Regions from separate parts of the Homo sapiens genome. Here regions 1 and 2 are each linked to region 3. The links are contacts of gene promoters, found by promoter capture Hi-C in blood cells and fetal thymus (Javierre and others, 2016). All regions are on one chromosome and are shown on one strand. The core of a region is centred on a gene start or on the middle of the fragment in contact, and the rest is flanking DNA. Distances in the headings are between cores, read along the strand shown. Region 1 overlaps SDCCAG8 (SHH signaling and ciliogenesis regulator SDCCAG8). Region 2 overlaps CEP170 (centrosomal protein 170). Region 3 holds the start of WDR64 (WD repeat domain 64).

Region 1 (2,700 bases), core at 20-2,519, 1.6 Mb after region 3:
GAACTTAGACTCTATATGTATACAGCCTACATGTAATAATTATAAACCATAATAGTAATAATTAGCTTTTTAAGATTATACCTTTAGAATGCACTTTCATAGCCAGTATAACATATTAGAAATACATGCATATATTGAGAGTAAAACTGAGGCACTGTTGAGATGGAAAAAAAGTTATTACTTATTGTCTTAAAATGTAGATATCTAAACTAAAGCCCTTCAAAGTAGACACAAATGATTTCATGTGAACATTTTTCATACAATATTGGCTTGAGCTTTTTATTTTTCACATTGACTTCCTCCTGTATACTCATAGTAGTAATTTATATTTGCCTATCTTCTGAACCTATTGCTATTAATGGAGGATGATTATAATTGTTTGATTTCTACTCAGGACAGATAATTCATTTAATTAGAGTTACTTTGGTTTTTAAATTTCTTAAATATACCAAAAAACCAAAGCTCTATTTTATTTTATTCTGCCATGATAGCTGGTACTTGATTATCATTTAAAATGTCTGCTGTGCTGAGAAAGAGAGTGGCTGAGAAACAGACACTGTGCCTCATTTCAAGCTTTCCTCTGGCTTTGTTTAACTGGTTGACCCTTGTTTTACCTTTTCCTGATTTCCTCATCCTTTAAAAAAAAAATTATGTGATGGGTATATGATTTTACAAACTATTTTAGGATAAGGTAAGCTATACATTAACAGTCAGTTCCAGGAATGCTACAGAGCTAAAATAGCATTAGCGTTTTTTTGAAATCTCTTCGTTGGACCCCTCAATGCAGTGTGTCTCTACTTTAGGGTTCTACTCTTGGAGGTTCTATGCTCCAGAACACCATACACTTGAATTGCCTTCAATACTAGAGCCAAAAATCAAAAACTACATTTTGCTAATGTATCTTTTTTGAGATGGAATTTCATCGCATTGACACTGGCTTGGCATCAAACGCTTCCTAAAGAATCTCTCCTTCACGGAGCTGCTGCAGTTTTAGCTAGCAAATCCTCTTCCATGGCAGTTTCTTGGAGAGAGTTGTCCCTTGTATCTCAGCATTACTGAATGGAATGTTGTTTTTCCAATTTGTTAAAATAGTTTATTCCAAGCCAGTTATACTACTGCTACCCCAGCATTTTTCCATTCACTATATGTGCTTTTTATAACCACTTTCACCATCCATCTTTAAAAAAAATGATATTCACATCCATGAATCTTGTGTATTTGTGGAATTTATAGGATAGAGAAGCAAGTATTTGTATTAGTCCATTCTCGTGTTGCTAAAAATAAATACCTGAGGCTGGGTAATTTATTTAAAAAAGAGGTTTAATCAGCTCATGGTTCTGCAGGCTGTATAGGAAGTGTGATACTGGCATCTCACTCTGGTGAGGGCCTCAGGAAACTTTCAGTCATGGTGGAAGGTGAAAGGGGAGCAGGCATTTCATGTGGTGAGAGCCAGAGCAAGAAGTGGGAGAGGTGTCACATTCTTTTAAACAACCAAATCTCACCAAAACTCAGAGCAAGAACTCATTATCATGAGGATAGCACCAAGATTCATTCATCATGACCGAAACACCTCCCACCAGGCCCCACCTCCAATGCTGGGGGCCACATTTCAACTTGAGGTTTGTGGGGGACAAGCATCCAAACTATATCAAGACTATAAGCTACATTGTGATCGATTCTATGTTTATATCACATCAGTGCAAAATTGAGTATGGAGAAGGTAACAACTGATTCTTTGCTAAATCCAAACATGCTTAATTTGGCTTTTTAAAATTTATGTATTTATGTATTTATTTATTTATTTTTTGTCATAGAGGTCATTAGAACATGAGGAAACCAATATGCCTACTATGCACGACCTTGTTCATACTATTAATGACCAGTCTCAATATATTCATCATTTAGAGGCAGAAGTTAAGTTCTGCAAGGTAAGTTTCTCATTAAGAATTTAAAACTAAATAAATGAAAGCTTATATTAACTATAGATTGTATTAAAATTTGCTGCTATAAATCTTCATGTTTGTAGCAATACATTGACAATTGCTATTCTTACGTGATTGAGAGACTGATGTGTCACAAGAGCTTGTCAGACTTGGGAATGATGCTCTTGACCATACCATTTCTGATTGCTTGATTTCCCAGTAGTTCATTACTATGTCTAATGATTTCATAATATGCTTTCATATTTCAGAAGTTTTCCTTCTCACCCCGCTTGCTGTAGCCCAGCAAATGGCAAATGCTTTGGAATACAAATACCAATCATTCTCCCATACTTGTCAACCTACTGGAGCAGTGGTACAGCAATCAGGGATTCTAAACTGGTAGACCAATTCTTCTCCGCTGTCAGTATTAAGGCTCTTACTTTGACTTTGAATGAGAATGGTTCATAGGGTACTGACAGTAATGATCAAGAAACCAAACACATCATATATAGCTTATGACACTAGAAGGTTATATGCTCAACTGCGTGCAGTTTGCTAATGTCATTAATGCTAATAGAGCCTTTTCATCTTCCCGAAGTATGTCGTGTTTTACTTTTTTTTTTCTGTTTCTTTCTCTCTTTCTTTCTTTCCCTCCCTCTTTCTTTCTTTCTAGTATCAGTGTATTCGATTGTATGATATTTTTATAGGAATCACTGATATCTCTTGTATCATGTTTTTATATATAGTATATGATATTATGTATTATATTGTTGACATT
Region 2 (2,700 bases), core at 70-2,569, 1.6 Mb after region 3:
TCACTGCCCAAAGAGGAAAACATAAAATTTTAAAGATATTCTTTTCTACTAAATTCACATGTTCTATTAAGAATTTACATCAGCTGACTTCGCTGAATGTATTAACTTAATTTTTTTAAATTTAAAACTGTTATAGAGAAATCATGTGAATTATAATTTTACCATGTTTTACATATCTTATTGTAAAAAACATTTACCTTGTAGGATTTTCTTCTTTCAAAACAAAAAATGAGCATAAACTATTCAAAGAGTCCAAAGATTTAGAGGAAAAGGGACACAATATGACATGTTTCAGAACAAAATTATCTTCATTTAAAATATGGGCTCTAAAACTGGAATTCACGGGACAGCTCTAAGAGGGAAAGGGACTGAAAGTCAAAAGAAAGGTATTTTAATGGCAAACTGTGGTTTTTGAAAATTGCTTTTAAGTTTCTTTTAAAGTTTTCTCTCTCTCTGTCTCTCTCCAGAGCTTAGTAAGTTGTCTGCAGATGGAAGCACCCAAAAGCAGAACGATAAGCCTGTGGAAATTGGTATTGAAAGGAAATATCATTATAGTCACAGAAGAAACAGTCTGTGAACCAGTGAATCTGAACTTGATCACCATGTATTACGGGGTTACTGTGTGAACCCTGGTATACTAAAAGCAAAGAGAGTATCAAAAATGGGGAACAGACATGACTTCCAATTTTTGGTCCAACATGGAAAGAATCTGAAGTCATCGCTCCCATCTTCATAATAAGAAAAATGTTGAACAAACTGAAAACCAAAAACTCATCTTAGTTTTTCAGAGACCTGAGGTCACAAGGCAAATTACCACCCTGAAAAGTAGAGAGACAAGCAAATACAGAGAGAATCACAGCTTGCCAGGAGCAGAAGCCTCCGCTAGAAACAGCAACCAGTAGGACAACTTAAAGGTGAAGTGATTAATTGCTAGAGACTTGAGGGTGGACCAACTTGAGATTTAAAAAAACTCCTGCATTAAATCTAAAAATTGCTTAAAATTCATTTTTGTTTTCATTACTTTGAATTTTTATTCATCTGGTTAAACTAATGAAATACTAAATTCAGTTCTTAAGTTGGCAAGAAGCAACAACGCACCACTCAGCAAAATAATTTCACCATATTGTTGATGTATCAAGTTGATCTAGTCTAAGGATAAAACCTCCAAATGTTGTTAAGAGAAGTGAGATTTCAAGTACATGTAGGCTCTCAATAAATACTGAATGGATCCTCATAAATAATCTCTCTCTGAGGAAAAGAGTACATAGGAAAAGGGCAGAAATCCTTTGGACAATGGACTGAAATTCAAAGAAAAAAATCTAAATTAGAGTTGAGAAAAGGCAAATTCCAAAGCAAAGTGAAATGTTACCATTAGATATAGGACTAAAGGAGTCAAATGGCTACTCATGGAGCCAGAGAATGGTGGCTTTCGAAGGAGTGTGATAAACACAGATGAGGGATATTGAGAAAAAGTGATTTGGGGAGGAAGTAATTTAGGACAGGCTGCTTCACTAAGTGAACAACTTGTTTGAAATCTGGAATATCCTTAATCTACAATGTACCCCGCCCTCCAACTGCTTATGGTGAACACTGACGGTACATAAACACCTACAGCAAAAGACAGAGCACACTTAAGACCTAAGAGAACAACAGAGTCCACTGAGTCGAGTGAGATGCCATTACAACTCTGGGGATTAGGGAGTGAGGAGTGGGCCTGTTATGTGGGATCACAAGAATACATCGTTTGTTTGTTTAATAAAGACAGTAACAATTCAAGAAGAGTAGTCAGGAACTCAAGGCAAAGAAGATCAGTTTAGTACTCACAGAATAAGACAATCCCATTTGTGTAACTATTTTTTTAAAAAAGCAGCCAATGAAAAAAAAATTCCTATGTTTTTAGTTATTATGAAATGTATATAAAGTATCAATGTGTTTCAGCACCCATGACAGGAATTAAGCAGAAGACCAAGATTACAGAACATAATACATCTAGTGACCGAGTCAAGGAAAACTGAGGGAATAGGAAGAATATGTAATGGATATCTAACCACTTAAGCATTAAACTGTTTTCATTTCTATATAATCAAATTCACATTTCCTCTAGATTAAACTGAACCAGAAGGTGCATGACAACTTGATATTCACAACCCATTTGGATATTTCAATGAAAATTTAATAAAAATCTCTCAGAAATACATAATTTAAATCCTAACAAAGACTGCTAACTTAATCACGTTTCTGATACTAATGGGAAAACCTTAGCTGATCTGAGCTTAAAACTGCAAAGATAGGCAATTTTGACCAGGCCCTTTTTTTCCTGTTACTTAAACTTCTGGTAAGAATGAAAGACTCCAGTCCCTGTCCTTTTATAGCAAGGGTGTCCAATCTTTCGGCTTCCCCGGGCCACACTGGAAGAAGAATTGTCTTGGGTCACACATAAAATACACTAACAACAGCTGATGAACTAAAAAAAAAAAAAATTGCAAAAAAAACACCTCATGATATTTTAAGCAAGTTTATGAATTTGTGCTGGGCCGCATTCAAAGCCGTCCTGGGCCTCAGGTTGGATGAACTTGTTTTATAGTGTTTTCCCTGTAAGAATCTATGCCTCCTCCATCTGATTCTTACCCCTATAGAGACCCTCTTCCTGAGGCTGTGCACTCTTGAGGATCCATTTTACTTGGAGTAACTTACAGTAAC
Region 3 (2,700 bases), core at 90-2,589:
GAAGTGTGTATTCAGTAAATATTTCCTAGATGAATTAATGGTGAATGCATTAGAATTGTAGGAAGAGTGGTTCTCCAGACATCACTGTACAGTGGTTTGAAAGCTTTAAAGGAAAAAGGAGGAGAAACAAATGGGGTTGGGGGATTTTTCTTTAAATAAAATCTTACTGCGCTCTCCTAACAGATAGTTAGAGGTGGACACCAAGAAGACAGTACTGGAATTGGAGGTGCTCTGAAATGCCATCTGCTTCATCTCTGAATGCAAGTTCTTGAAGAATGTTTTAAAAGATGGACTACCAAGGGGTAGGAAATTTATCTAACTCACCTAAGCCATAGGAAGTTAACTAATTGTTGAGAAACATTAAACAACTTCTCCTTCCCATAAAAAGTTGAAAATTGGAAAACCGGAGTCAATAGCATTTGGACTAAGTCGGATTGGAGATTGCAATGACTGGGAAGGAGATGTGCAGAAAGGCCTCTTCTAATTCATCTGACCTCTTACCTTGAAAAGCTGTCCTCATAATCAGAAGCCACTCCTTCCTTATCCTTGGCTCACTTTATTATTTCAATCGAAGGACAATGCACAAAGGAAGAAGAGCATTTGTATTCCCTATGACCTCTAAAAATGTTTGTGGTAGAAATGACAGGTGCTGAAATACATTTCATCTTTAGAAGTTCGAATTTCCATATCCAGTACAGTGGCAAGAATAAGTGTGAATATTACTTTTTTTTTTTTTTGAGAGGAAGTCTCACTCTGTCACCCAGGTTGGAGTGCAGTGGTGTGATCTCAACTCACTGTAACCTCTGACTCCCAGGTTCAAGTGATTCTCTTGCCTCAGCCTCCTGAGTAGCTGAGATCACAGGTGCCCGCCACCACATCCAGCTAATTTTTGTATTTTTAGTAGAGACGGGGGTTTCACCATGTTGGCCAGGCTGGTCTTGAACTCCTGACCTCAGGTGGTCCACCCACCTCGGCCTCCCAAAGTGCTGGGATTACAAGAATGAGCCGCCGTGCCTGGCCAAACTTTACTTTCCGCGGTATTGTGAGGAAGGCAAAAGGTTTGAGGTGAGAAGAGATACACGAGGGAGAAAGTATTACCCAGTTTTCTTACTTGTTATTTACTCATTCCTTTTCCCTCTCAAGCAGTATACACAACACACACATGTGCACGCGCACACACACACACAGTCTGTGGGGAAAAAAATATCTCAATCTCCTCCTTATGAAGGAAGTAGGATGTTACAGAGATATTATGATGCAATGAGGACCCTATGAAGGACACTGATGACATTGTGAGGTCAGGATTTTTACTGAAATGTTTGTCTGTATGAAATGCATCAGACCTAAATCAGCTTTCCTCCCTGCTAACATCCTAGTGGCAACTCTTACTCCTACCCGCACTATGGGATTTTAAGATCAAAGGAATTAGACCTAGGGCAAAAACTGAGACAGCAGGGAGGCACTGTAACAACTGGAAAGTTTTCCAAATTGGTAAACTTGCAGTATTCTTTCTGTACAGAAGTAAAAGATCCCCTATGTCCCTATGGATATCAGGAAGGAAAAGCGTCTCAACATGGCACTTCAGATGAGCAATTTCAAAAAGGCTTTGAACAGGTTTGAAAAATTGGTTGAACAAACAGCAGCCCAGAAAAGAGATGAAAGAGCAGGCTTATTTATCCATAAAGAAGGTAAGATCAGTGATTACACGATAGTCCAATTGGGTCTGTTGGTTAGAACTGGAAAATGTTTTAAGCCATCAGAGAGAAGCATCAGAGCTTAATGTGAAAGAATGGGTGCTGAAAGGGGATGAAGACCTCAGTTCTTGTTCTTTCTCTGTCCCTAAATAACAAAGCGGACATGAGGAAGCTTTTGTTTTGTTTTGTTTTTGTTTTTGTTTTTTTTTTTTACTTCTCTGAACCGAAGTTGCTTCAATTGTAAAACTATGGGATTGGATTAAATGACGTCCAGTGTTCTTCTGTAGACGCTGCCATTTGATGGCTCACTGGTTGACCTGGGATGCTCAGTAATGTATAGCACTGCTTTTTCTTAGCCTAAAGATATCATGAGACCATAAAGACTTTCATAAGAAGTGCAGCTTCCTGCCTCACCATGATTCCATTGTCTTGGCCACTCTCCATATCTCTAGGCAGGAATGATCTTGAGGATGCAAGCTAAGGAGAATATGGTGGACAGTGGTCTTACAGGAGGATTTGCAGCAGAGATGCCAGTGCATAGACAAGATTCAAGGGGAGTGGTGTAGTGTACAGCTTTGGCGTATTGAGGACAGCTGTGAAAAATAAAGCTACATGGCAGAGTGAAAGACTAACAGAACAAACCCTGCTGTTGCAATGAAAGGAGCAGAGCCCATATAATTGCTAAAGGGATAGTATAGCCAGCCTCTGAGTGTGCCAGGCTGCATAGTAATTTGTAAGTGAAAATCTTGACTTTGGGTGTTCAAACCCAAGCTGGTATTAATTGAATAGTATTTAATAATTTATAGTCATGTTAATCAATGTCATTATGTTCATTTTATTTGTGGAAAAAATGGGAGCTGAAGATAAATCATTTGCCCAAGTTACCCAAATTCTTTTCTTTTCTTTTCTTTTTTTTTTTTTTTCTGAGACGGAGTTTCATTCCTATTGCCCAGGCTGGAGTGAAATGGTGCGATCTCGGCTCTCTGCAACCTCTGCCTCCCAGGTT

The links. The method cuts DNA at HindIII sites, captures the fragments that hold promoters and counts their contacts. A CHiCAGO score of 5 or more calls a contact.
Region 1: a fragment that was not itself captured here is called in contact with the fragment with the promoter of WDR64 in region 3 in 6 of 17 cell types (non-activated CD4 T cells, activated CD4 T cells, total CD4 T cells and 3 more); the score reaches 10.0 in non-activated CD4 T cells.
Region 2: a contact is called between a fragment that was not itself captured here and the fragment with the promoter of WDR64 in region 3, in 1 of 17 cell types (total CD4 T cells). The highest score is 6.0, in total CD4 T cells.

What each region holds. Positions count from the first base shown.
Region 1 is chr1:243,272,729-243,275,428 of GRCh38, forward strand. It overlaps SDCCAG8 (SHH signaling and ciliogenesis regulator SDCCAG8), which reads left to right. Exons shown (of 18, transcript NM_006642.5): 4 at 1,815-1,928. Among named protein-coding and RNA genes, the nearest start is that of SDCCAG8, 18 kb to the left of the region's middle. The HindIII fragment of the contact is 1,396 bases long and covers 572-1,967 here.
Region 2 is chr1:243,221,986-243,224,685 of GRCh38, forward strand. All of the region lies in intron 2 of CEP170 (centrosomal protein 170), which reads right to left. Among named protein-coding and RNA genes, the nearest start is that of CEP170, 32 kb to the right of the region's middle. The HindIII fragment of the contact is 3,709 bases long and covers 1-2,700 here.
Region 3 is chr1:241,650,942-241,653,641 of GRCh38, forward strand. It overlaps WDR64 (WD repeat domain 64), which reads left to right and starts at 1,340. Exons shown (of 28, transcript NM_001367482.1): 1 at 1,340-1,688. The coding sequence starts at 1,544. The HindIII fragment of the contact is 1,763 bases long and covers 102-1,864 here.